Linked DNA regions of Homo sapiens: all the other regions are linked to region 4. The links are contacts of gene promoters, found by promoter capture Hi-C in human tissues and cell types (Jung and others, 2019). All regions are on one chromosome and are shown on one strand. The core of a region is centred on a gene start or on the middle of the fragment in contact, and the rest is flanking DNA. Distances in the headings are between cores, read along the strand shown. Region 1 holds the start of PTK7 (protein tyrosine kinase 7 (inactive)). Region 2 overlaps LOC105375065 (a long non-coding RNA gene). Region 3 holds the start of PPP2R5D (protein phosphatase 2 regulatory subunit B'delta). Region 4 holds the start of DNPH1 (2'-deoxynucleoside 5'-phosphate N-hydrolase 1). Region 5 overlaps RRP36 (ribosomal RNA processing 36).

The links. The method cuts DNA at HindIII sites, captures the fragments that hold promoters and counts their contacts. A contact is called where the count stands out against the background at its distance.
Region 1: a contact is called between the fragment with the promoter of PTK7 here and the fragment with the promoter of DNPH1 in region 4, in 2 of the 25 tissues and cell types used here (adrenal gland and neural progenitor cells).
Region 2: a contact is called between a fragment that was not itself captured here and the fragment with the promoter of DNPH1 in region 4, in 4 of the 25 tissues and cell types used here (dorsolateral prefrontal cortex, mesenchymal stem cells, psoas muscle and 1 more).
Region 3: the fragment with the promoter of PPP2R5D here is called in contact with the fragment with the promoter of DNPH1 in region 4 in 1 of the 25 tissues and cell types used here (stomach).
Region 5: a contact is called between a fragment that was not itself captured here and the fragment with the promoter of DNPH1 in region 4, in 2 of the 25 tissues and cell types used here (dorsolateral prefrontal cortex and lymphoblastoid cells).

What each region holds. Positions count from the first base shown.
Region 1 is chr6:43,074,238-43,079,917 of GRCh38, forward strand. It overlaps PTK7 (protein tyrosine kinase 7 (inactive)), which reads left to right and starts at 2,077. Exons shown (of 20, transcript NM_002821.5): 1 at 2,077-2,330. The coding sequence starts at 2,252. KLC4 (kinesin light chain 4) reads left to right here. Exons shown (of 16, transcript NM_201521.3): 16 at 385-856. The coding sequence ends at 435. It overlaps KLC4-AS1 (KLC4 antisense RNA 1), which reads right to left and starts at 1,993. Exons shown (of 2, transcript XR_002956347.1): 1 at 1,458-1,993; 2 at 96-1,030. RefSeq lists an enhancer at 1,212-1,735 and a silencer at 2,065-2,164. The HindIII fragment of the contact is 20,814 bases long and covers 1-5,680 here.
Region 2 is chr6:43,417,666-43,423,315 of GRCh38, forward strand. The region is part of intron 5 of LOC105375065 (a long non-coding RNA gene); the gene reads left to right. Among named protein-coding and RNA genes, the nearest start is that of ABCC10, 7.0 kb to the right of the region's middle. The HindIII fragment of the contact is 7,247 bases long and covers 118-5,650 here.
Region 3 is chr6:42,982,972-42,988,335 of GRCh38, forward strand. PPP2R5D (protein phosphatase 2 regulatory subunit B'delta) reads left to right here and starts at 1,599. Exons shown (of 16, transcript NM_006245.4): 1 at 1,599-1,733. The coding sequence starts at 1,707. It overlaps LOC124900215 (a long non-coding RNA gene), which reads right to left and starts at 1,343. Exons shown (of 2, transcript XR_007059580.1): 1 at 861-1,343. RefSeq lists an enhancer at 1,378-1,497 and silencers at 1,648-1,717, 1,808-1,957. The HindIII fragment of the contact is 19,136 bases long and covers 41-5,364 here.
Region 4 is chr6:43,226,054-43,231,311 of GRCh38, forward strand. It overlaps DNPH1 (2'-deoxynucleoside 5'-phosphate N-hydrolase 1), which reads right to left and starts at 3,428. Exons shown (of 4, transcript NM_006443.3): 1 at 3,208-3,428; 2 at 274-342; 3 at 1-90. The coding sequence starts at 3,403. RefSeq lists silencers at 3,037-3,226, 3,287-3,726 and an enhancer at 3,210-3,709. The HindIII fragment of the contact is 36,780 bases long and covers 1-5,258 here.
Region 5 is chr6:43,027,994-43,033,600 of GRCh38, forward strand. RRP36 (ribosomal RNA processing 36) reads left to right here. Exons shown (of 7, transcript NM_033112.4): 7 at 1,099-1,606. The coding sequence ends at 1,235. Among named protein-coding and RNA genes, the nearest start is that of RRP36, 9.2 kb to the left of the region's middle. The HindIII fragment of the contact is 7,304 bases long and covers 1-5,607 here.

The DNA.
Region 1 (5,680 bases), core at 827-3,326, 150 kb before region 4:
AAGAATTATTTGGAGATACGAATTATTTTTTCATCCTGCAGCCGCCTTAGTAGTAGATGAGAATGGAAAAAGAAAAGTATTAAATAATCCCCATCTGAGAAAACACTAGTGATATTTTAATGGCAAATGACTTCTTGTATCAACACACAAGTATATGCCAGTATTCATGTGGTTCTTCCAGGTAGCTTCTCCACCAGATTGTGGCCTTCTGGAAAACCCTAGCAGAGGCTAAACAAAGTCCCAGGTCCAGAGATAGACTGGTCCAGAGACAGATGTGATCCTAGGTCCAGAGATACACTGTGACCATGGGATGGATGGACTCTAGGAGCCAGTCTTTGGGAGGCCGAGGTCCCTGAGCTGATGGGGTAGTGTTGTCTGTTTCAGGTCTCCCGGGGCCTCAGTGCCAGCACCATGGACCTCTCTTCAAGCAGCTGACATTCAACCCGGCCCCCAGGTCTGCTGGGTCCCCCCACCCCCACAGCCCTCACAGCATTCCCCATTGCTCCTGGCTCTTCCCCACCCCTAGGTGGGACAGTGAAGGGGAGCAGTTTAACCAGAAGATTGCTGCTGCCCTTAGGGTCTCAGCTCCCTCCTCAGGAATCCCTCTTAGGAAGGACCCTCAGGACACCCTCTCTGCACCCTGTGGTCCTCTAGAGTAGCTAGCTCTGAGGCCCCAAGGTGGGTACAAAGCAGGTATGGCCCTCAGAGATGCAGCCTGCTGCTGGCTTTTCAGTCAGAGGGTTGGGGGCTGGCCAGCCAAGCTGCCTTGCCCTGGCCGCTCTTACTCCCTCCCTCTGCTGTCTCACTTCAGGTCCATGTATTTCACTTTTCTTAAATAAAAGAATCAGGTAACCTTTCTGTGACTTGAGTCCTGATTGAAGAGGGTATGAAGCAGGGCTTGTGTTGGGGCCCTTCACAGAAGGTGAGGGGCAGTGATGGATGGAGCAGCAGGAGGAGTGTTGATTCTTGGATCTCTCCTCTCTTCCTCCCGTTGTTTGTATCATCTCCAGCAGGGCCTGTAGGAAGGCATCTGGGGGATGGGGAAGAAGGAGGCTCACAACCCAAGGAGAAGGTGCTGTGGACTGGGTTGTCAGGGACATGTGGTGGCCATGTGGCAGGACCCTGGAGTCCTGGCGCCACTTCTCCTGGCTGTGAGGCCCTCTGTGGCTGCCATTCCTCCTCCCAGCTGCTTGGGGGAAGGGAGGTCTAAACAGGCCTGGGGGGCCCTCCGGAACCAGAGGGGAGACAAGGCACTATCCATCCCCTCTCAGCATATCTTGGAGGCCTGAGCAGCAGCTGGGGCCCATCTTCTAAAGCTTGACTCCTCCTGACCCGCCTCCTACACCCCTTGCTGCTTTCACAACAAAGAAAGAATGTGGGGGTGGTGGCGCTGGGGGTGGGGGTGCCTGGAACAAGGGTTGTGCTGGGCCTCCCCACAGCTGGAGACTTGGCCATACCCTGACACAGCCCAGACTGCCTGGAGATGGACTTGGGATGAATTTGTCAGTTAGCAGACTTCAGCCTGGCTTTCAGAGCCCAGCGTGTTTCTACCTTTGGGTTCAGATTGGTCTACAGCCAAACCAGACCCCAGTCATGCACACTTCAGCCCCTCTCCGGGCTACACAGCATCTTCAGGTTACTTGGGGACATTAAGGACACCCTGCTGTTCTGGGTCTGCCGTTAAGATTTTGGGTTGCTGAAGAGTTGGCGGGGCCCGCCTCTTCCCCTGCCCCCACCTGGAGAATTCTGGGGGAACTGTTGGCCAGAGCCTCCAGGTATGCCCAGAATGGACCATTCTCCCCAGGGTCCACGGAATCGCACAAGTCACTTAGGTTCTCCCGGATCCCTGCAGAGTCGGTGGTGGGTACAGCAAATACTCAGGTCCCCTGCACTTCCCTGAGCCTTGCTCTCTCTATTCTCCATCCCTCTCCAGACCCCTCCCCCTACTGAGCTCCTCCCCGCCTCGGCGAGGAGGGGGCGTCGAGGGGGCGGGGCGCCGTGCGGGGGCCGGAGGGGAGGGGGCGTCGTGGGGCGGGGCTTGGCGGCGGCGGCGGCGGCGCGCGGGGACTCGGAGGTACTGGGCGCGCGCGGCTCCGGCTCGGGACGCCTCGGGACGCCTCGGGGTCGGGCTCCGGCTGCGGCTGCTGCTGCGGCGCCCGCGCTCCGGTGCGCTCCGCCTCCTGTGCCCGCCGCGGAGCGCAGTCTGCGCGCCCGCCGTGCGCCCTCAGCTCCTTTTCCTGAGCCCGCCGCGATGGGAGCTGCGCGGGGATCCCCGGCCAGACCCCGCCGGTTGCCTCTGCTCAGCGTCCTGCTGCTGCCGCTGCTGGGCGGTGAGTACCCGAGAGTTGGGGGCACAGAGCTTGGGAAGCGCGGGAGTCCCGTGGGCAAAAGGCTGCGCCCGGGGCGGTGGGTTTGGGCGGCTGGAACGGCCCTGGAGTAGTGGAGAGGCTCGCTGGGGGTGCAGGCTTGCGGCGGAAGGGCGCAAGGAGCCCGGGTGTCGGGAGGCTGGCGAAGCCTCCAGGGACGCGGTCAGGGTACCCCTCCCACTCGCGCCGCGGGGACGCATTTCCAGCCTCCCTGAGTTTTTCTGGTCTGAGCCGAGAGTTTGCTCGAGAACTGCCGAGAGTTGCTGGCTCTCGGGCCCAGATGGGGAGTTTCTTGTCGGGGGAGAAAAGACCATCCGCACCCACCGTGGGGAGCGCGATGGAGAAAAAGGAATTCCCCACCCCACCCGGCAGGGTCGGCCCAGGTAAGAGTTGCTGGTTTGGGGCCCGATGCCGGACAGACCTGCGGCGCGCAAAGCGCGGAGCTTTGTTACCTACGCCGACCCGACGTTCCCGGCTTCCCTCCTCCGAGTTCCTGGGCAAAGCTGAGACCCCAGATGGCCCTGCGGGTGAGGGCGGAAGAAGGGAAGAGTTAGGGGCCGCCCCCATCCATGGCCTCTAGCTACTGGTCTGGAACCCTGCGCCCACTCCGTGCCAGGGCCGAATCCGGGGATCCGAGGGTCCCAGGCTGTCGCGGTGACTAATGTGTGAAGGCCGCTGCCAAAATCGGGCATGGCCTGGCTGCAAAGGTGCGGACGGGGTTTGTTCTGCTCCTTCCTGGATTTCCATCCTGACTGTCCTCACAGAGGAAAGGAAGTATTTCTAAGGGAAGAAAGGCAAAAAGAGCTCATTCTGGCTTTTCTTGGGGGGGGGCCTTAGCATTTTAACGAGGGTGTGGCCCTCATCACCAGGGCAGACAGCACCGCCCCCCCAACTCCCGCAGCTTTTATTTCCTGGCTTGGTCACACCTAAGAGTCATCACTGAGGTGTTGAAGTGCCTTACAGGAAAGCACCAAGCCACCCGCACATCCCAAATAGCCCGGACTGGAAATAAAGCCCCCGACCCTCCACAACACTCCTTGGTGGTCCTCGAAGCAGCTTTCTCTTGGGGAGCTCTGTCGAGGAGACCTGTCCTAGGTGATCACCTTCCATCTCCTTTGAAGGTGGCAATGGGAAGGGCATGGGTAAGGAATTGCCTTTCTAATATCTTTCTGGCCTGCCAGCTGTGGAGGGGTTTTGGTGCTGGTGGAATCAACATCTCCCCTGCCCCCAGTTGTAAAAGGAGAGGTAAATGTAACCCAGGAAAGAGACCAATCTCCAGGGATTTGGAGGAGGTGTTTCTGGAGTTGCCCCGTTTTTCTTGTGATGTGTGTGGTGGTTATTGCTCGTGGCAGAATCCACATCTGCTCCCAGAGGAAGTATGGAAGTTTTTTTGCACAGCCAGGATGGGGGCCCAGCCATCTGGGCGAGCAGCCCAAGCTCACAGGCCCCCTGGCTGTCCTGGTTGGGTTTTGGTGTGTGGGTCTGCCCAATGAGGCTGCCTTCACTGCTGCTGTTCAGGGTACTAGAGTCAAGGGGAGTTTCTGGTGAAGATGGGGCTCTTGCTCAACAAATGCTGAATTCCTAAATTCCTTCCATGAGAAGATGACTCTGATGTTAATTGACTTAATCTGGTGACTGGTTGGTGTTTAGTGTGTGTGCGCGCGTGTGTGTGGGGGATCCTGTTGGGGGAAGTTAGGGCAGGCTGAGGGCTTAGGACAGGAGGTCTGTAGTCTCCTCAGGGGTGGGGGGATGTCTTGTGCTCAACAAAGGAACATTTTAATGAGAGCCTTAAATCAATTCCACCAAATGTGCCTTGTTGTGGAACCTGTCCATGTGCTGTAAACAATTTCAGTGGAGGCCGAGGCGCCTGCTGTCTTCTAGTGAAATCCTGGGACTCAACCCACCCCCAGACGCATGACTTCAGGGGCAACGGTTTTTTAATAGATCACAGTAGATGTTTGCATCTCATTGTTTAATTGTGTAATTAACTGGAGTTGTAGTGAGATCCCACTGTTAATAAGGCTGGAGTAAGGAACCTAGGCTGGCTAGGTTTGTGGATTAGACCATTTTAAAGTCTGGGTAATTATGCCATAAATGGCAGAGTTACTTTCCAAACTTTGAGATGCTGTTGTAATAAATATGGTGGAGGAGGAGGAGGCTTGATGTTTGAAACTATGGATTCTTAACCCCAACCTCTTGTACAGTCAGCTGTGGTCACTTCTCATTCCAATTCCCATCCCCCTCCCTGGTTTCTTTCCTCCGGGCTCTTGTTTCTTTGGGGAAATTGAGTCGTCATGTTCTGGGATAGGCTGTCTGCAGATTCCTCAAGGCTCTGCAGCCTGTAATTCAGGCCTAGGAGTTGCTTTTATTAGTGATGGCTTTTCTCAGCTGTTGGGAAGTATGGTGGCAGGGCAAGGGTGCTCTTCTTGTCACTTGTCAAATGATATACTCAAACTCCTGGTGTTCAGAGCAGCATTGAGTGGTGGACAGAGCTCAAGCAATGGAGATAAAGTATGGTCCTTCCTTGGCATCTGCAGGGAATTGGAATAGGACTCCCTGAGAATAACAAAATCCAAGGGTGCGGCCAGGCCTGGTGGCTCACGCCTGTAATCCCAGCACTTTGGGAGGCCGAGGCGGGCGGATCATGAGGTCAGGAGATTGAGACCATCCTGGCTAACACGGTGAAACCCTGTCTCTACTAAAAATACAAAAAATTAGCCAGGCGTGGTGGCGGGTGCCCGTAGTCCCAGCTACTCGGGAGGCTGAGACAGGAGAATGGCCTGAACCCGGGAGGTGGAGCTTGCAGTGATCGTGCCACTGCACTCCAGCTTGGGCGAGATCGTGCCGAGATCGTGCCACTGCACTCCAGCTTGGGTGACAGAGCGAGACTCCGTCTCAAAAAAAAAAAAAAATCCAAGGGTGCTCAAGTCTCTTATATAAAATGGTGTCGTATTTACATATAACGTACACACAACTTCCCTGTATACTTTTGTTTTGTTTTGTTATGAGACAGGGTCTCCTCTATCACCCAGGCTAGAGTGCAGTGGCACAATCTTGGCTCACTGAAGCCTCAAATTCCTGGGCTCAAGCAGTCTTCCTGCCTCAGTGCTCTAAAGTATGAGGATTACAGGCATGATCCACTATGCCCAGCTTCTCCTGTATACTTTAAATCATCTCTAAGGGCCAGGTTTACGCCTGTTATCCCACCACTTTGGGAGGCAGAGGGAGGAGGATCGCTTGAGCCCAGGGGCTCAAGACCAGCCTTGGCAACACAATGAGACCTCCACCTGTACAAAAAAAAAAAAAAAATTGCC
Region 2 (5,650 bases), core at 2,491-4,990, 190 kb after region 4:
CACTTTATGGACTGTGAATTATCTTGTGACCAATGATTTCCTCTTCTTCCCACCTAGGTGTTACTTCACTTACCAACAATTCCCCAATTCCCCAAAGTGGAAGGAAGGAGACAAACTTGTACCTTTGACTCATTTTTCAGAAACTATGGTGTAAAGGTCTCTGGGAAACTGGGTGAAACTAAAGGGCCATATGATATTGTTTTCATTTATTTTTATTTTTTAACCTGGAAAATGTGAAATGTGTAGATGCAATGCCATATGATGTTGAGGAATTATTTGTTTTAAATTATCTTTCCTCCTTTATGTCCTGGGCAAATATTAATTAGTTGGTTATTTGTAACCATCAGAAAGGATCCTACTGATGGCATGACTCCTTTGCCAAACTTCTTATCAAAAATAAGGACTCTGGAACGTTATGAAAATAAGAGGTCTATGGCCATACCACCCTGAAAACACGCAATCTTGTCTGATCTTGGAAGCTAAGCAGGGTTGTGCCTGGTTAGTATTTGGGTGGGCTATAGGCTTCTGGCATCCCATTCCCTCTTTCCCTAAAGAAAGAAAGAAAGAAAGAAAGAAAGAAAGAAAGAAAGAAAGAAAGAAAGAAAGAAAGAAAGGAAGGAAGGAAGGAAGGAAGGAAGGAAGGAAGGAAGGAAGGAAGGAAGGAAGGAAGGAAAGAAAGAAAGAAAGAATAAAATGAGGGGACCACATCCTCTCCCACCTACTTCAGAGGGCTGGTAAGACTAGGGTCCTCCCCACCTGAGCACCAGCTTGGGGTGAAAGGGAGGAAGAGGAATCCTTGACAGAAGCATTATCTGTCCCTTTAACCCTCCTTTCAGAAGTGGACTCTCTAAAGAGTCCTCTTGTCCTCTGACTTAACTTTACCTCATCCAGCTGTATACATGCAGTGAAACACACTTTAACTGTCCCAGATACTTGGGAGGCTGAGGCAGGAGGATCGCTTGAGCACAGGAGGTGGAGGCTACGGTGAGCCATGATCATGGCACTACATTCCAGCCTTGATGCATAGAGAAAGACCCTGTCTCAAACCAAAACCAAAACCAAACCAAACAACAACAACAACAACAACAAAAACCCACACATACACTTTAGGGCAGACCTCTGTAGTAGGATGATGTATTTGTGTACAGTAGCTAAAACTTGCAAGTAGCTGCTTACCCAGTCAGCCAGGCGGCCATGGGTTTTGTTTGTTTTTGTTTTTGTTTGTTGTTGTTGTTGTTGTTGAGACGGAGTTTTGCTCTTGTTGCCCAGGCTGGAGTGCAATGGCGCCATCTCAGCTCACCAAAACCTCCAACTCCTGGGTTCAAGCCATTCTTCTGCCTCAGCCTCCCGAGTAGCTGGGATTACAGGCATGCGCAACCATGCCCAGCTAATTTTGTATTTTTAGTAGACGCGGGTTTCTCTATGTTGGTCAGACTGGTCTTGAACTCCTGACCTCAGGTGATCCACCCACCTTGGCCTCCCAAAGTTCTGGGAATACAGGTGTGAGGCACTGTGCCCAGCCATAGCCATGGTTTTTAATGACTAAGAAGAGAAAGGGAGGCTGAGGAGGGTGGATCACCTGAGGTCAGGAGTTCGAGACCAGCCTGGCCAACATGATGAAACTCCGTCTCTACCAAAAACACAAAAATTAGCCAGGTGTGGTGGCGTGTGCCTATAATCCCAGCTACTCGGGAGGCTGAGGCAGGAGAATCACTTGAACCCAGGAGGCGGAGGTTGCGGTGAGTTGAGATTGTGCCATTGTACTCCAGCCTGGGCAACAGAGTGAGACTCCGTCTCAAAAAAGAAAAAAAAAGTTTATTTTTTCTAACTTTCTTATTTTCTTGGGTTAAACTAGAGCTCTTAAATTAACCTGCCTGCCCATCAGCTTTCCAGACTAGGAGTGATTATATAACTTACAATTCTTACTGGGGACCTGAAAGCCCCAACATGCTCTGAAGCCTGGAAAATTAGGTGGAAGAAGGAAAAGATAGAACCTTGGCACAGAGAGAAAAAAAAAGTGGTTAGCATCTGTGCTGGACTAAAAAATATATAAGTATGAATGTTAGATTTTGTGAGTTACATCAGGGACACATGTGCATATCTGCATTTGATGTGTGTGCAATTCTGTGGTCAAGAGGGTGTCTGTGAGTGAGAAGACACATCCAAAGATTTAATGAGAAGAATAATGATTTTGGATCCATCTGCCTTGCTCTCAGTGCCAAGAGGAATGGTAGGCACAGGATTCACTGCAGGGGTAGATGGTGAAAGCAGTCAGAAAGTGATGGGTTGTTAGGGGTACCCCTGAATAATGTCTCCCCACCTAGTTAGCTCTTGCTTGAAATTTAGCAGTTAGCTAACTGTGTCTCTAAGGATTTTAAATTTTTCTTCATACTTTTCTTCATTTCTACATTTTCAAGACATACCCACGACTGGGTAATTTATAAAGGAAAAGAGGTTTAATGGACTCACAATTCCACATAGCTGGGGAGGCCTCACAATCATGGTGGAAGGTGAAGGAGGAGCAAAGGCACATCTTACAAGGCGATAGGCAAGGAGTGCTGAGGGTATTGCAATTATAATCAAAAGGTTATTAATGTAAAATAATATATTTTAGTACTTGACAGTAGTTCAAGTAAAAAGTCTTGAGGGAGGTTCCTGATTCAATTTAGACCATGAGGCCTTGTGTTAAGGGTGTGGATTGGGTATTGCGGATCCTGATCTAGAACATGTGCTGTGATGTGTACTAGTTCTATAATCCTCGGCAAGGCTCTTGACATCTGTGGTGCTTAAACCTGAGTGCAAGAATCACCCAACTGCAGATTGTAGGATCCTCTCCTAGAGAGTCTTATTCAGCAGGTCTAGAGTGGACTTTGGAATCTGCATTTTAATAAGCAGCTCAGGTGACTCCAAAGCAAATGCTATATAGACCACTCTTTGAAACACACTATTCCATATTCTGCAAATCTCCATTTTTAAAAACTTTATTGTGAAAAAATTTCAAATATATGCAGGCATAACTCATTCACCTGCATCTCGCTTTATTGCACTTTGCAGATTACATTTTTACAAATAGAAGGTTTGTGGCAACCTGGTGTTGGGCAAGTCTATCAGCATCATTTTTCCAACAGCGTGTGCTCACTTCGTGTTTCTGTATCACATTTTGGTAATTTTCACAGTATTTCAAACTTTTAATTATCACTCTGTCTGTTATAGTGATCTGTGATCACTGTGATCAGTGATCTTTGATGTTACTATTGTAATTGTTTTGGGATGCCACAAATCACACCTATGTAAGACACAGAAGTTAATAAATATGTGTTCTTTGACTGCACCACCTACCAGCCATTCCCCTATCTCCCTCTTTTTGAGCCTCCTTATTCCCTGACACACACAGTATTAAAATTAGGTCCATTACTACCCTAAAATGAGGCCGGGTGGGTGGCTCACACCTGTAATCTCAGCAATTTGGGAGGCCGAGGCAGGTGGATCACTTGAGGCCAGGAGTTCAAGATCAGCCTGGACAAGGTGGTGAGACCCTGTCTCTACTAAAAATACAAAAAATAGCCGAGTGTGGTGGCATGCTCCTGTAGTCCCAGCTCCTTGGAAGGCTGAGGCAGGAGAATCACTTGAACCCAGGAGGCGGAGGTTGCAGTGAGCTGAGATTGTGCCACTGCACTCCAGCCTGGGCGACAGAGCAAGACTCTATCTTGAAAATAAATAAATAAATAAATAAATAAATAAATAAATAACTCTACAATGGCCTCTAAGTTTTCTTTTTTCTTTTTTTTTTTTTTGAGACGGAGTTTCACTCTTGTAGCCCAGGCTGGAGTACAATGGCATGATCTCGGCTCATTGCAACCTCCACCTCCTGGGTTCAAGCGATTCTCCTGCCTCAGCCTCCCGAGTAGCTGGGATTACAGGCTTGCGCCTCCATGCCTGGCTAATTTTTGTATTTTTAGTAGAGACGGGGTTTCACCATGTTGGCCAGGCTAGCCTCGAACTCCTGACCTCAGGCAATCCACCCACCTCAGCCTCCCAAAGTGCTGGGATTACAGGCGTGAGCCATCGCACCAGGCCCAGTGGCCTCTAAGTTTTCAAGTGAAAGAAAGAGTTGCACATTTCTCACTTAAAAAAAAAAAAAAAAAAAAAAAGCTTCTAGGATGGAGAATGTGCGAAAAAAAAAAAAGCTAGAAATGATCAAACTTAGTGAGGAAGGCATGTTGAAAGCCAACATAGGTCAGAAACTAAGCCTCTTGGCCAAACAGCAAGTTGTGAATGCAAAGGAAAATTTATTGAAGGAAATTAGAAGTGCTATTCCACTGAACACACAAATGATAAGAATGCAAAACAGCCTTATTGCTGATATGGAGAACATTTTAGTGTCTGGATAAGGACCCAACCAACTACAACATCCCCTTAAGCCAAAGTCTAATCCAGAGTAATGCCCTAACTCTTCAATTCTATGAAGACTGAGAGAGGTGAGGAAGCCGCATAGGAAAAGTTTGATGCTATCAGAGGTTGATTCATGACGTTTAAGGAAAGAAGCCATCTCTATAATATAAAAGTGCTAGTGAAGCAGCAAGTGCTGAAGCAGAAGCTGTCGCCAGTTAACCAGAAGATCTAGCTAAGATCAATGATGAAGGTGGCTACATGAAACAACAGATTTCTCACTCTGTCGCCAGGCTGGAGTGCAGTGGTGTGATCTTGGATCACTGCAACCTCAGCCTCCCGGGTTCAAGCAATTCTCCTGCCTCAGCCTCCGGAGTAGCTGGGATTACAGACACACACCACCACGCCCAGCTGATTTTTGTATTTTTAGTAGAGACACAGTTTCACAATGTTGGACAGACTGGTCTCGAACTCCTGATCTTGTGATCCACCCTCCTTGACCTCCCAAAGTGCTGGGATTACAGGCGTGAGACACCACACCTGGATGAAACAACAGATTTTGAAAGTAGATGAAACAGCTTTCTATCAGAAGAAGATGCCATCTAAGACTTTCATAGCTAGAGAGGAAAAGTCAATGCCTAGCTTCAAAGCTTCAAAGGACAGGCTGACTCTCTTGTTAGGTGTTAATGCAATTGGTGACTTTAAGTTGAAATTAATGCTCATTTACTATTCTGAAAATCCTAGGGCTCTTAAGAATTATGTTAAAGCTATTTTTTTTTTTTTTGGAGATGGTGTCTTGCTCTGTCACTCAGGCTGCAGTGCAGTAGCATAATCTTGGCTCACTGCAACCTCCACCTCCCGGGTTCAAGCAATTCTCCTGCCTCAGCCTCCCGAGTAGCTGGGATTACAGGCACGCACCACCACACCCAGCTAATTTTTGTATTTTTAGTAGAGACAGGGTTTCGCCATGTTGGCCAGGCTGATCTCAAATTCCTGATCTCAAGTGATCTGCCTGCCTCGGCCTCCCGAAATGGTGGGATTTCAGGCGTGAGCCACCACACACAGCCAAATCTACTTTATCTGTGCCTTATAAATGGAACAACAAAGCCTGGATGACAGCACATCTGTTTATAACATGGTCTATTGAATATTTTAAGCCCACTTTGGAGGACTACTTCTCAGAAAAAAAGATTCCTTTCAAAATGTTACCGTTTATTGACAATGCATCCAGTCATTCAGGAGCTCTGATGGAGATGTATAA
Region 3 (5,364 bases), core at 349-2,848, 240 kb before region 4:
TTTTTGTAGACGGAGTCTTGCTCTGTCGCCCAGGCTGGAGCGCAGTGGCATGATCTCGGCTCACTGCAACCTCCACCTACCGGGGTCAAGTAATTCTCCTGCCTCAGCCTCCTACCGGGTTCAAGTGATTCTCCTGCTTCAGTCTCCCGAGTAGCTGGGACTACAGGCGCGCGCCACCACGCCCCGCTAATTTTTGTATTTTTCATAGAGGCATGGTTTCACCATGTTGGCCGGGATGGCCTCGATCTCTTGACTCGTGATCCGCCCACCTCGGCCTCCCAAAGTGCTGGGATTACAGGCGTGAGCCACCGCACCCTGTCTAATTTTTGTATTTTTAGTAGAAATGGGGTTTCACCACTATGGTCAGGCTGGTCTCAAACTCCTGACCTCGTGATCTGCCCACTTTGGTCTCCCAAAGTGTTGGGACTACAGGCGTGAGCCACCGAGCCTGGCCACAGGTTTATTCTTTTTGTCGTCATTGTTGCTGTTTTGAGACAGAGTCTTGCTCTGTCGCCCAGGCTGGAGTGCAGTGGTGTGATCTCGGCTCACTGCAACCTCCGTCTCCCGGGTTCAAGTGATTCTCCTGCCTCAGCCTCCCGAGTAGCTGGGATTACAGGCGTGCACCACCACACCCAGCTAATTTTTGTATTTTTAATAGAGACGGGGTTTCGCCATGTTGGCCAGGCTGGTCTCGAACCTCTGACCTCAGGTGATCCTCCTGCCTCAGCCTCCCAAAGTGTTGGGATTACAGGCGTGAGACACCGTGCCTGCCTGGTTTACATTCTCTCTTAATCCTTTGTTTATACACATCTGTGATTCACCAGACTGCGAACTCTTTGTGGGCATAAACTGAGTCTTACCCATTAGAACACGGACTTGAGCAGGGTGGCAAGTAAGGGATGGATTTCCTGAGACAGTCAACAATGAAGTTGCTTTTCCACTGCGTTCCCAACTGCTCAAATCTAGCTGGTTCCCCAATCCCAGTACACTTGCAGTAGCAACGGGGACCCTCTTCCTAAAGTTGCACCAAGCCAGGGATTCTCCACTCATTTCGCCCAGGTCCTAGCCCTGCCAGGCTTCCCCTTTGCTCCTCTGCAACCCCTGTCTAGGGAGGCGGGTGTCTTGGAAGGTCCTTGGGAGCTCCCTCCATCAATTTTGCATCTGCAATTAGGGCTACTTTACCCCAGTGAAGAAAGGTGCCCTCCGTATTAGGGCTTCCTTCCTCCAATTCCGACTGGACAGGGTAGCAGAGCGGGCAAAGTGTGAGAGCCTTTAGAAGGAAAGAGCAGGGCTCCAAGCGCCGCGAAGAATGGCCGAGGCCGACGCACAGCAGACGCTGGAGTGCAGCCCTCCTAGCCAAGCTTGGGTTTCCCCTTATCCCCGCCTCCTTCTCTAAGCTCGACCCACTTTAGGGCGGGACCACCCACTTCAGCCAATTCTGGAAGCCGAACCCTGGCGGTTTGTACTATTTCTTTCCAATAAGAAAAAAAGGAAGCAGCTTGGCTCCAATGACCAATCCGAGGAGGCGGCGCCTGGTTGTCAGGCAGTTTTGTAGGAGTTCGGGCCAATTGGAGGCGCAGGCACCGCTCGACCCGGGCGCAGCGCGCAGGCGGTGGCGAAGAGACGCCGAGCGGGCCGAGTGCGGCCGAGCAAAGCCGGAGCCGGAGCGGGGCCGCAGGAGACGGGCCGGGTCCGGACGGGCCGAGATGCCCTATAAACTGAAAAAGGAGAAGGTGAGCGTGGCCCTTTTTCCCCCACCGCCGCCTTGGAGCCTGCGCGGAGCTCTGGGAGGGGCCGGAGCCAGGCCCGGGACAGCCCCAGACTGACCCTCCCGTCCAGCCCCCGCAGGACTCCTGGGGCCAGCCCTCCGCCCCCGCGGCTGGCAGCACCCCCAGCTTGTGCCGCAGCTAGGACAGCTCCCCCACCTTGCCCCGGAGAGACTCCCCCCACATACACCTCCCTCCCTTCTTCCCTTCTCTTACCCCCGGCCCAGGGTAACCTCCTTCTTCCAGATCTGCCCCATTCCCAGGTCACTGTCCTGCTTTTTCTGTCCCCCCCATCACCCCTGGCCCCGATCCCCCTTCGGTTTGGGCAGCCCCTCATCTGAAACTGCACCTTCCTCCAGAATTGCCCCCTCGCCCCGCCCTGAGCAGCCCCTTGTCTCCTCTTCCTACCCGCCTGGGACAGCCGCCCCGCAGTCCCCTACGGCCCCTTCTCTTTCCATGCCAAGCCCCTGACCTAGAACAGCGCTGCTTTCTCTCTCCTCCACCCAAATCTGGCCTAGGCCCCTCCCTCTAGTTCTTCCTTCACACACAAACTTGTAAGCAGGACTGAGCCCTTCTGTTGATGGAACCTCACAACGTTGGTGCTGGAAGGGACCTCTGAGCGCATGCAGTGCAATCCCTAATGGTACAGATGAGGAGACTGAGGCCCCGACAGGGCAAGGGACTTGTCCAAGGTCACACAGCCTGCTGGAGGCCCAGCTGCAATATCAGGTCTCCTGACTTAAAGGCCTCTTTTGTATCAAAGCCCTCCTAACTGTCACCCAAGTGCATCCTAGACCAGTCACCTTTCCTAATCTGAGTAGGCTCCTCACCCTTATTCTTAATCCTAGGATAACCTTTGCATTTTTCCTTTTTTTTTTTCTTTTCGCACCAGTGCTGGATTTCTGCCTTTCCTAAGCTACACCATCTTCAAATTGGGAATTTGTCCTCACTGTCAGATTATTGTTCCTTCTTAGCCTGCAGGCCAGCCACCCCTGAACACCCATGTCTTTATCATGATGTCCTGACACAGGCCATTTCTTTTTTTTTTTTTTTTTTTGAGATGGAATTTTGCTCTTGTTGCCCAGGCTGGAGTGCAATGGCGCGATCTCGGCTCACCACAACCTCTGCCTTCTAGCTTCAAGCGATTCTCCTGCCTCAGCCTCCCAAGTAGCTGGAATTACAGGCATGCGCCACCACATCCGGCTAATTTTGTATTTTTAGTAGAGACGGGGTTTCTCCATGTTGATCAGGCTGGTCTTGAACTCCTGACCTCAGGTGATCTGACCCCCTCGGCCTCCCAAAGTGCTGGGATTACAGGTGTGAGCCACCGTGCCTGGCCCACAGGCCAGTTCTTAATGTTGCCTTCTTTCACCTTCCTCATCTACCTCGGTGCTGCCTTCCCCTGCTCCTCATCCGTGCCTTTTTCTACCCTCTGTTTCCTGCTGTTGCTGAGGTCTGACTCAGAGGTGTGGTTCCTTTGAGGTACAGACTCACACATAGGATGCTAGGATACCAGTTCCAGCCTCCCCCAGCTTCTCCTCTCCTGGGGCTGGCCCTTTTTGGTGGGGGTTGGCTCTGGCCTGGTGTTCTGGCCACCTGCTCGATGACCCCAGAGGTATATTGCTTTCATTTGCCCTCTGATTGGCTGGGTTACTGGGCTGCCATCTCTGACCTTTTCAATCAAACTTTTTCTCCTGGGGCTGTTCTGTATTTGCCAGGCAGCTCTGATTCTGAGTTGTCCCCTTAACCTTTCAGGGCCTGAGGTTCTAAGTACAGGGTTGGTGATGGTGTACTAGATAGTGAGCCTCCTGGGAGTAGTGAGCTGGACAGGGTTTTGTGCCCCACCCAGGCCCTGTCCTTGGGGAGTGGGCATGCGGAGGTGGTTTGGGTAGCTCAGTCGTAGACAATGCACACAGAAATCAGCCACAACAGGGGCTAAGGGAAATGGAATTCGGGGAAAGCTGGTGAGGTCCCCACCCATTTGTAATTTTTAGTCTGTTGGACTAGATACTGTCCCATCCACAGAAAGCAATAGCCTACTAGATTGTGAAGAAGACAAATTGCCAGTGAGATTTGCTAGGACCATGGGTGTAAACGTTTGGTTGGGAAAGGGTGTTGGAAGTAACGGGGTGCATGGAGCCAGGCATAACTCTCACCTCCCTATAAGGTTTTTCTGCTCTTGATTTTCAGTTGCATTTGGCCTTCTTCAATGGTTGGCAGGCTCTAAGGGGCAGGGGGGTTGCCAGTGTGACTGAGGTTTGTCTGGATGGCTGTGGGTGGAGGATCTTTATTGCTCATCTATGACCTGTCCCCTCTCTCCTGGCCATCTTTCACAGCTTCCTCTCTAAAGCCTTTCTGAGCCCTCAGTCAGGAGTGAACTCTCCTTTCTTTTCTGGATTTGCAGAACACTTAGTAGGCCACTTATGGTCCTTTTGTGTTTGGCCTTGGATGGGAATTAATTGTGGACAAGACTTTTCTTCCCCTTTGAGATAATAACTAAGTTTCATTTTGGTTTGACAACTCCTTTTCACACGGTAAGTACGTGCTTAGTGGATAGGTGCTAAGATAATCTCTTGGAGGGATTCGCATCTCTCCTCTTCCTTCATGTTCTCCTCTGGGACTTACCTCTTTTATTTTCCTGAGTAGGGTGCCCCTGCCCCCTCCGATTTTTTTCTTGTTCATAATAATAGTAATAACATTGACCAGCACTACGGTTTTCATGTGCCTTAACACTGTGCTGAGGGAAGAGGGTATTATGATTGTCATCATCTAATAGATGAGGAAACTGAGGCTCAGAGAGGCTAGTTAACTTGCCTGTGATTACACAGCCAGTAAGAGTTGGGCCCAAAACACAGGGCTGAGTCCAAACATGTTCTTTTAACCTCTGTGCTACACAGCATTTGACTACTGAGCTGGGCTGAAATGTGTGTGCTTCACCTGTTCTGCAGGAGCCAGGGAGCAAGGGTGGTAGGCCTGGTTCCTCCATGCCCACTCACACCCACACACTAAGGCAGCTGGATCTCTCTTAGGCTCATTCTTTGAAAGATACGTCTGAGGCATCATGCTGAGTGCTGTAGGGTGGGTGGAGGGGTACAAAAAAGAATAAGCAGCTTATGGTCTAATAGATTGGAGATGTATGAAGATGGGTCAGCTTTGTTCAAGGGGTTCATGTCTGGGGTGTGTGCAGACACCTCAATGTTGTGTCCTGCCTGCACCCTGCCCCCGGCCTATTTCTCTCCACCCCATGCTCTCAGCCACTGATAAGGGTCAGTGTGGCCAGCTGGGTTAGTATACAGCAGGAGCGTGCTCAGGCCAAAGAAGGAACTCCTTCCCCCTACTGCATGGAGCTGCTCTACACCACACCTTTCTTCCTCCCCACCTCCAAGAAGCCTTCCCCCTACTCCAGCCCACACAGAGCTCTCTTCTCCCTGAAATCCTTTTGCCCCCATAGTCACAATAACTCGATTTAACACTTCTCACTGAAGGGGCTTGGCTGCTATTGAATTGCACAATCTCAGAGCTGGAAGTGATTTCCAAGATCCTCCAGTCCTCATTAAAGGCTTGAATTTCTTTTGCAACATGCCTTACAGGAGGTCAC
Region 4 (5,258 bases), core at 2,178-4,677:
ACAGGCACAGGATCCGCTTGTTAAAGGCCACGGCCCGGCCCAGCTCATAGCCTACACCCAAGGATGGCTGTGTCACTTCTGCCACGACCACTGGGAGGAAAGATGAGAGGAAGCCTCAGCATTGGGGGCACTTGAGGTTCATAAGGAAGACGACGGTGTGGCTGTGGTGAGGAGGGAACTCTGGGAGTCCCTTCTAGGTGTGGAGGCTGGGATGTCCAGGGGAACCCAGCACTCCAGAGGAGTTAGGTGCTGGAAGGAGGGAGCGCCACTCACCGTCCGCCTGCTGCAGCCACTCCAGGTCCTGCTCATGGATGAGCCTGTCACCCCCAGCAGCCTCTTCCCCTGTGTTGAGGGAAAGCTGGTCAAGGACATGCCTCATGCTGGCTCCCAGTAACTCCTATGCCCTTGTATGTCCATACCCACCCTGCTCAGGGAGGGTGGGAGCCTTGTGCCAGATGACCTGACCAAACATGACAATCTCATCAAAGCAGCGAGGAAATGGAATAGCCACAAAAAGAAAAATTCAACCCTATGCAAGGTGGGACATGTGATTAGGGCCGAATGAGGAACATCAGCAGCACTAACTGTGGATGACATTGATTAGGGAAAGGTGCATGGGCACTTAGCCAAAAGTAGGAGAGGCATCCTAGGCCCAGAAGGTAGGGATCTCGGGTCTTAGCTTGATTAAATGTTATCTTCCAGGACAGTGAGGCTCAGCCCACCGCATCAGGGTAGGACCACTGGGGAGCTTGTTAGAAGTACAGATTCCAGGGCCAGGCGCGGTGGCTCATGCCTGTAATCCCAGCACTTTGGGAGGCTGGGGCGGGTGGATCACTTGAGGTCAGGAGTTCAAAACCAGCCTGGCCAACATGGTGAAACCCCATCTTTACTAAAAATACAAAAATTAGCTGGGTGTGGTGGTGCACACCTGTAATCCCAGCAACTTGGGAGGCTGAAGCAGGAGAATCACTTGAACCCAGGAGGCGGAAGTTGCAGTGAGCTGAGATCGCACCACTGCACTCCAGCCTGGGCAACAGAGCAAAACTCCATCTTAAAAAAAACAAGAAAAAGTACAGATTCGGGCCAGGCGCGGTGGCTCACGCCTGTAATCCCAGCACTTTGGGAGGCCAAGGCGGTAGGATCACGAGGTCAGGAGTTTGAGACCAGTCTGGCCAACATGGTGGAACCCCATCTCCACTAAAAATTAAAAAATTAGCCAGGCGTGGTAGCAGGCGCCTGTAATCCCAGCTACTCGGGAGGCTGAGGCAGGAAAATTGCTTGAACCTGGGAGGAGGAGGTTGCAATGAGCGGAGATCACTCCACTGCACTCCACCCTGGGCGACAGAGCAAGACTCTGTCTTGGGGGAAAAAAAAAAGTACATATTCGAAGGCTTTATCCCAGATGATCAGAACCTGCATTTTTAACAGGCTCCCTCAGATGACACTAAAGACCTGGAGAGCCACCAGGCAGTCTGGATATACCATGAACTAATGAGCTGTAAGCTTCAGGGTCCTCCACTTGCACAGGCCCTTTCCAAACCATCAGCAACTTTGTATTGTGATTTTTGTCTTTTTAAAGAGGTCTCCCAGAATTGCATGAGGTCCCACAAATTGTGGGTCTGCTCTTGGGTAGGATAAGTGGAAACCACTTAAGGTTTTCTGAGCAGAAGCACAAGCATTCAAGATACAATTTTCAAACTGGAAGGATCTGCAAGATTCCAGACCAGCACATCAAATATGCTTTAGAGAAATCCAGCCAGACTCAGCGGCTCATGTCTGTAATCCCAACACTTTGGGAGGCTGAGGCAGGCAGATCACTTGGGCTCAGGAGTTCAAGACCAGCCTGGCCAACATGGCAAAATCCCGTCCCTATAAAAAATACAAAACTTAACCAGGTATGGCGGCACACACCTGTAGTCCCAGCTACTTGGGAGGCTGAGGTGGGAGGATTGCTCAAGCCCGGGAGGCAGAGGTTAGCAGTGAGCTGAGATTTTGCCACTGCACTCCAGCATGGGTAATAGAACAAGACTGTTTCCAAATAAATAACTAAATAAATAGAAAGAGAAAGAAAAACCCAGCAGCCAGGAGCAGAACACAATAATGGCCTGAAAGAGAATATGAGGCCAGCATGGGGGCTCACATCTATAGTCCCAGCACTTCGGGAGGCCTGAGGCGGGAGGATCACTTGAGGCTAGGAGGTCGGGACCAGACTGGGCAACATAGTGAGACTCCCAATCTCTACAGAAAAATTTTGAGCCAGGCATGGTGTCGTGCCCCTGCAGTCCTTGCTAATAGGAGGCTGAGGCTGGAGGATCATGAGTTTAGGAAGCCGAGGCTGCAGTGAGCTATGATCGCACCACTGCACTCCAGCCTGGGCGACAGAGAGGCCCTTGTATCAACAAAACAAAAATGTGAGAGAGGGTAATAGTGAGAACTGGGGTCAGCCAGGTCTAAAAGAGTGCTGATGTCTTCACAGAAAAAGGGGAGGCAGGCCCTGGGCGGTGGCTCCTGTCTGTAATCCCAGCACTTTGGGAGGCCGAGGCGGGCAGATCACCTGAGGTCAGGAGTTCGAAACCAGCCTGACCAATATGGTGAAACACCGTCTCTACTAAAAATACAAAAAGTAGCCGGGTGTGGTGACGCGTGCCTGTAGTCCCAGCTACTCGGGAGGCTGAGGCAAGAGAATCACTTGAACCCGGGAGGTCGAGGTTGCAGTGAGCCGAGATCACGCAACTGCACTCCAGCCTGGGCGACAGAGTGAGATTCCGTTTCAAAAACAAAACAAAACAAAACAAAAAAAGTTGGTGGGGAGGCAGGAGGATACCTTTCGTGTTGGGTGGTGGAAAAGATTCCAGCGGGTGAGGTGGGAACTGAGCCCAAGCAAAGCAGCCCAATCTACCTTCTTTCTGTTGCACCCTACAAACGCTCTGAAAGCAGCTGAAGACAGAGTTCTCCAAGAAGGAACCAAAGGTCAAGATAATGCTGAGTCTGCCTTACACCCGCAGGCTTGCTGGGACCCACGCAGCCCGAGCCCCGGCCCGTTTCCTTCTCGGGCTGGGGCGCTGGATGGAGCACCGGGGTAGGAGGGCGGGCTCCGGGCGCCGGGAGCGCAGCTGCCGGGGGTCGGGGGGGCGGACAGGCCGGGTCCCTGCCACCCCAGCCAGGTCCGCGCCCGCGTCCCCGCGTCCCGCGGCCCCAGGGCCTCACCGCGCGCGCCCAGCTCGGCGGCCGCCACGTGCTCGGTGAGCACTGTCCCGAATCGCCGCAGCCGAGACACGATCCGCTCGTACAGCGTCCTGTCCTCGCGTCCGCCGCGAATGCTCCCGCAGAAGTACAGGGCCGGGCGGCCAGGCTCCCCGCGCTCCCAGCTCTCGCTGCGCCCCGGCACCATGGCAGCAGCCATTCCCCAGCCGCCCGCGCTCTCCGGCGCCAGGGGGCGCCAGCCCGCGGCCACGTGACCCCGCCCGGCCCAGCGCAGAGCCCGGCTGCTGAGTCCACACCTGTGGAATGGGGACGACGAACTGGGAGGATCCAGCCGGGACCCTTTCGGGAACACACCCTTCCTGGACTTGACGTTCGGATGCCTAACACGCACCTTAACTTGACCTTGTCCAGGCAGAACTCGAGGGCTTCCCCACCTCACCCGCTTCTGCTCCCCTCCTCCCCGCCGTCTTCCCCAGCTGCATCCTCCCAGCTGCTCAGGCCCAAGACCCTCGGAGTCATCTGGATCGTTCCCTTTCTCTCAAACTCTGCGTCCCATCCATTGACAACTCGTGTGGATTCGTCCTTCCAAATCTGAAATCTCACGACCGCCTACAGGGCCACCACCCTGGTCTAAGCCTCCTCTGGGCTCTCCACAGCCTCCTAACAGGTGTCCACATGTCGTGAGCTGCTCAAGGTCAGACAGAACCAGGTCCACCCACCTTTGTGTCTGTCCACAAGATCAGGTTTTTACTGATGCTATTTCAATCACAAAAGCTAGGCGTCACACGGAGTTCCCAAGAAGTCAGTTCTCCTTAGGACCACCTGTTCACTCGGTAGTCAGAGCCGCGGGCATGCAAGCTGGAGCCACTCCACAAGTCAGACTGTATTGCAAACCATCCATAGTATTATATGTAAGGATATAAATGTTACAGGTTAAAATTTCACATCAAACACAAGAACATTTAACATCAAGAGAAAAGGGGTTAACGAACCAGTCCAAGGAGAGTGCTGTGGACAGAGTCCCGGCCTGATGGGGATAGTCATCAAGAGCTTGCAAGGAAGAGTCCTTGATTTGGGCAGAGCCTTCAGAGGCAGACACCAGGTGCTGGGCACGAGTGATAGCAAGACTCGGTCTGTTAAGGTGGCCGTGTCTAGCTGCTGAAGTCCTGATCATTTTATGGTCCTTGAGTCCTCTGATGAGGACTTATAGTAAAGGGTGATGCCCTTATCTGGTTGGGTGTTGTCTCCATTGGTTAGGCGAACATCTGGACCCTGTTGGCTTGATGCCTTTTGAAATGTAAGATGAAGTTTTTTAAAACTTTATTTATTTATTTATTTATTATTTTTGGTGACAAGGTCCCTGTCGCCCACACTGGAGTGCAGAGGCACGATCATTGCTCACTGCAGCCTCAAACTCGTGCCTCAAGTTTGAGGGTTCAAGGAATCCTCCCACCTCAGCTTCCTGAGTAGCTAGGACTACAGGCACGTGCCACCATGCTGAGCTAATAAAAAAAAAATTGGCTGGGCTCGGTGGCTCATGTCTGTAATCCCAGCACTTTGGGAGGCCGAGGTGGGCAGATCACGAGGTCAGGAGATCGAGACCATCCTGGCTAACGCGGTGAAACCCCGTCTCTACTAAAAATACAAAAAGTTAGCCAGGCGTGGTGGCACACTCCTGTAGTCCCAGCTACTCCAGAGGCTGAGGCTGGAGAATCGCTTGAACCCGGGAGGCAGAGGTTGCAGTGAGCCAAGATCACGCCACTGCACTCCAGCCTAGGCAACAGAGTGAAACTCCATCTCAAAAAAAAAAAAATTGTAGAGACGAGGTCTCACTATGTTTCCACGGCTGGTCTCAAAACTCCTAGACCCAAGCAATCCCCCTACCTCAGCCTCCCAAAGCGCTGGGATTACAGGCATAAGCGAATGTGCCCAGTGATGGAGTCTTTCTAAGATGGAATTACTTATGTCAAGGGTTCTCTATACACCTCCCCTGGCCCTTCCCTGCTACAGTTTGCTCTCCACTCAGCAGCTTGAGTGATCTAGGTCATGACCCT
Region 5 (5,607 bases), core at 2,035-4,534, 200 kb before region 4:
CATAGTTGGTTGAATTGAGTAGTACTGAGATCATATAAAAAGTCATCAGTTGGGCTGGGCACGGTGGCTCACGCCTATAATCCCAGCACTATGGGAGGCCAGTGTGGGGGGGTCACGAGGTCAGGAGTTCGAGACCAGCCTGGGGGCCAACATGGTGAAACCCTGTCTCTACTAAAGATATAAAAAAATTAGCCGGGCCTGGTGGCGTGCACCTGTAATCCAGCTACTCAGGAGGCTGAGGCAGGAGGATCACTTGAGCCCGGGAGGTGGAGGTTGCAGAAAGCCTAGATTGCACTGTTGTACTCCAGCCTGGGCAACAGCGTGAGACTCCATCTCACAGGAAAAACAAACAAACAAAAAAAAGTCACCAGTTGGGCCGGGCGCAGTGCCTCACACCTGTAATCCCAGCACTTTGGGAGGCCAAGGAGGGCAGATCACGAGGTCAGGAGTTCAAGACCAGCCTGGCAAACATGGTGAAACCCCGTCTCTACTAAAAATACAAAAATTAGCTGGGTGTGGTGCTGTGCATCTGTAATCCCAGCTACTCAGAAGGCTGAGGCAGGAGAATCGCTTGAATCTGGGAGGCGGAGGTTGCAGTGAGCTGAAATCGTGCCACAGCACTTCAGCCTGGGTGACAGAGTGAGACTCCATCTCAAAAAAAAAAAGTCACCCGTTGGCCAGGCGCAGTGGCTCACGCCTGTAATCCCAGCACTTTGGGAGGCTGAGGAGAGCGGATCACCTGAGGTCAGGAGTTCGAGACCAGCCTGGCCAACATGGCGTAACCCTGTTTCTACTAAAAATACAAAAAAATTAGCCATATGTGGTGGTGCGCGCCTGTAATCCCAGCTACTCCGGAGGCTGAGGCAGGAGAATCACTTGAATCTAGAAGACGGAGGTTGCAGTGAGCCGAGATCGCGTCACTGCACTCCAGCCTGGGTAACAGAGCAGGACTCCGTCTCAGAAAAAAGATAGAGGGGCACCAGTGAGCTTTAAAGAACTCATGTATCCAGCATAATGGCTTGGAGTTACTGACCTGGTTTGGGAAAGAATAGGGGCTTCCTTCTTTGTTCACCAACTTTCATTCTCCCTGTCATTTAGCTGAGCAGCGCCAGTTGGCACTAGCTGAGAAGTTCAAGGAGCTGAAACGCAGCAAGAAATTGGAGAACTTCTTGAGTCGAAAGAGGCGACGAAATGCAGGCAAGGACAGGAGACATCTCCCTTTGAGCAAAGAGTAATAAGGAACTATCCTCTGCTCTGCCACTGCCCCAGGGAGACATGGATCTGTGAGGACAGATTTGGCCACGGCTGGTTTCCGTTCAAGGGCAAGGATCACAGCTGCCCTTGAATCTCATTGCCTCAGAGAAGACTAGAGGGCTCTTGGACTATCCCTAGGGCTACACAAGAATAGTTCAGCCTTCTGCCATGCCACACAGCCTCAGCTTGAATCTGGTTCATTGCGTCCTCGTGTTCTTCTCTCATCCTTGCCTTAAACCAGGGATTCTGATACCGAAGAAGAGGGGCCAATGAAAACCATGGAGTCTGTTCGTGACTCCCAGGGCTGGGACATTATGTAGGAGCCACTTCATAAACATTCTCTTTACTCATCTTTTTATTCTGTTTTTTGTGGCCTTCTTTTTGTGTTTCCCCCCCGAAACAGAGTCTCGCTCTGTCACCCAGGCTAGAGTACAGTGGTGCAATCTCGCCTCACTGCAACCTCCACCTCCCAGGTTCAAGTGATTCTTGTGCCTCAGCCTCCCGAGTAGCTGACATCCGCCACCAAGCCCAGCTAATTTCTTTCGTATTTTTAGTAGAGATAGAGTTTTGCCATGTTGGCTAGTTTGATCTTAAACTCTTGGCCTCAAGTGATCTGCCTGCCTCAGACTCCCAAAGTGCTGGGATTACAGGCGTTGAGCCACCGTTCCGGCCTTAAGGCCTCTGCTTTTATGTGGGATTTGTGGGTAGCCTAGAACTACTTTTTAGTGGGCCACATATTGGGATAGGCAATAAAGCCTAAGGCATCTACAACTGGGAAGTCAGATCAGAAACCCCTCCCACTTAAATCTGGGCCCCTCAAGGATGACAAGATCATTTAGTGGGTGAACCAATCCCACAACTCCCCTACTTGGCTTTGGTTTTGGATGCAAGGGATGTTAAGAGGTAGGGATATAAAGCTTCCATGGTAATATACAAGCACAGCTGGCCTTCAGTACTGTTTGGGACAAGAGTTTATAACCCATGTGGTCTGGAAAATCCTCAGGCTGATAACTTAGTTTAAAATAGTCTCAAGTAGGCTGGGCGTGGTGGCTCACACCTGTAATCCCACCACTTTGGGAGGCCGAGGCAGGCGGATCACCTGAGGTCAGGAGTTCAAGACCAGCCTGGCCAACATGGTGAAACCCCATCTCTACTAAAAATACAAAATTAGCTGGGTGTGGTGGTGGGTGCCTGTAATCCCAGCTACTCAGGAGGCTGAGGTAGGATAATCACTTGAGCCTGGGAGGTAGAGGTTGCAGTGAGCCAAGATCGCACCACTGCACTCCAGCCTGGGCAAAAAGAGTGAAATCACCACCGCGCCCCCCCCCCCAAAAAAAAATGGCCAGGCATGGTGGCTCACACCTGTAATCCCAGCACTTTGGGAGGCAGAGGCAGGTGGATCACGAGGTCAGGGGTTCGAGACCAGCCTGACCAACATGGTGAAACCCTGTCTCTACTAAAAATACAAAAATTAGCCGGGTGTGGTGGTGGGCGCCTGTAATCCCAGCTACTCAGGAGGCTGAAGCAGGAGAATTGCTTGAACGCGGGAGGCGGAGGTTGCAGTGAACCAAGATCGCGCCACTGCACTCCAGCCTGGGCGACAGAGCGAGACTCCGTCTCAAAAAAAAAAAAAGTCTCAAGTAGATAGTGTCTCCAGGGTCCTGGCAGAAGCAAATGTAATCCTTTCTTGAGGATTGTTTTTTTTTTGTTTGTTTTTTGTTTTTGAGATGGAGTCTCACTCTGTCGTCCAGACTGGCAAAAATTAAAATGTGAGAAGTATAAAATAAAAAATACAAAATGTCTTATGTTTAAAGAAAAAGTGTGACAAATGAATATCAAAAGGTACTAAACTGGTGTGATTAAAAAGTAAAACTTAAGGCCGGTCACGGTGGCTCACGCCTGTGTTCCCAGCACTTTGGGAGGCCAAAGCGGGTGGATCACGAGGTCAGGAGATGGAGACCATCCTGGCTAGTACAGTGAAACCCTATCTCTACTAAAAATACAAAAAATTAGCCAGGCGTGGTGGCGGGTGCCTGTAGTCCCAGCTACTCTGGAGGCTGAGGCAGGAGGATGGCATGAACCTGGGAGGCAGAGCTTGCAGTGAGCCGAGATCGTGCCACTGCACTCCAGCCTGGGGAACAGAGCGAGACTCCATCTCAAAAAAAAAAAAAAAAAAAGTAAAACTTAAAAAGAAAACCTTTTAAAAATGAAAAGTAGGGCCAGGCATGGTGGCTCGTGCCTGTAATCCCAGCACTTTGGGAGGCTGAGGTGGGTGGATCGCCTGAGGTTGGGAGTTCGAGACTAGCCTGGCCAACATGGTGAAACCCCGTCTCTACTAAAAATACAAAAAATTAGCCGGGCGTGGTGGCGCATGCCTGTAATCCTAGCTACTTGGGAGGCTGAGGCAGGAGAATTGCTTGAACCTAGGAGGCGGAGGTTGCGGTGAGCCAAGATTGCGCCACTGCACTCCAGCCTGGGCAACAAGAGTGATACTCCACCTCAGAAAAAAAAAAGTACACTACGAGAAGTTAGAAACTTTATGGTTAAGCAGCAGATTAGACTTCTCCCTAAAGGGAGAATGAACTGGAAATAGATCTGAAGTTACACAGAGAGAGCACTGACATACAGAGAAGTGGAAACTAAGGAAAAGAGGTTAAAAAACATGGAAGAGGCTGGGTGTAGTTGCTGACACCTGTAATCCCAACTTTTTGGGAGGCATAGAGAGGACTGCTTGAGGTCCTCAGTTGGGGACCAGCCTGGGCAACATAAGGAGACCTTGTCTCTAAAAAAAAATTAAAAAATCAGACATGTGGCACATGCCTATAGTCCCAGCTTCTCTGGAGGCTCAGGCTGGAGGATTGCTTGACCCCAGGAACTTGAGGTTGCAGTGAGCTATGATGGCATCACTGCACTCCAGCCTGGGTGACAGAGCAAGATCCTGTCTATAAAACAACAAAATGAAGATAAATGTGAGACTTGACAATCAAAATTTCAGGAAAGAATATTTCAAAGAGGCTGGGCATTTTCTAGAATTTTTTTTGAGATGGGGTCTCCCTCTGTCGCCCAAGCTGGAGTGCAGTGGCACGATCTTGGCTCACTGTAACCTCTTCCTCCCAGGTTAAAGCTATTCTTCTGCCTCAGCTCCCTGAGCAGCTGGTATTTCAGGTGTATGCCACCACACCTGGCTAATTTTTTTTTTTGTAGGGATGGGGTTTCACCGTGTTGGCCAGCTGGTCTCAAACTCCTGACCTCAAGTAATCCACCCACCTAGGCCTCCCAAAGTGATAGGTTTACAGGTGTGAGCCACCGCACCTGGCCTAGTTTTTTTTTTGTTTTTTTTGTTTTTTTTTTAAGGCTAGATAAATCATAAGCCAGGAACATTTGAAAGTCTATCCAGCCTGGGCAACATGGTGAAACTGCATCTCTACAAAGAATACTCAGGCGGCTGAGGCAGGAGGATCACTTGAGCCTGGGAGGTCGAGGCAGTGAGCCGTGATTGTGCCACCCGTACTCCAACCTGGGTGACAGAGCAAGACCCTTTCTTAAAGAAAGAATGCCTACCTTAAAAGCAGCTCTATGCCCCCAGTTAGGAGACTGAGGTGGGACAATCACTTGAGACTAGGAGTTCAAAGCTGTAGTATGCAGTGATTGCGCTTGTGAACAGCCACTGCACTGCCGCCTAGGTAACACAGTGAGATCCTGTATCTAAAAAAAGGCAGCTCTTGGGCCGGGCACGGTGGCTCACACCTGTAATCCCAGCACTTTGGGAGGCCGAGGAGGGCGGATCATGAGGTCAGGAGATCAAGACCATCCTGGCTAACACGGTGAAACCCCATCTCTACTAAAAATACAAAAAATTAGCCGGACATGGTGGCACGTGCCTGTAGTCCCAGCTACTCAGGAGGCTGAGGCAGGAGAATCACTTGAACCTGGGAGGCGGAGGTTGCAGTGAGCTGAGATTGCGCCACTGCACTCCAGCCTGGGCAACATAGTGAGACTCCATCTCAAAAAAAAAAAAAAAAGAAAAAGGTAGCTCTAATGAAAAGGAAGAGAAGTAGAATCAGAAGTTAGGACATCTATTGCTTGATGCTTCTGGGATGGGTAAGACGTAGTTCTGGTGATAGAAGTTGAAGCTGCAGCATAATGAGAGATGAAAGAGAAACTGCTCTTCTGGTGATTTTAACCCTAGGGATGTAGCTACTGGGACAGGAGGAAGTGAGGGACCCAGTGCTGCAGGGTCCCTGTTGTCACATATGTCAATCCTACTTTAAAGTCAAATAATGGATTCTGGCTGATAAAGCCTATCAGAATTATGGTGTTGATACGAAAGTGTCACATAGCCACCAAAATGTG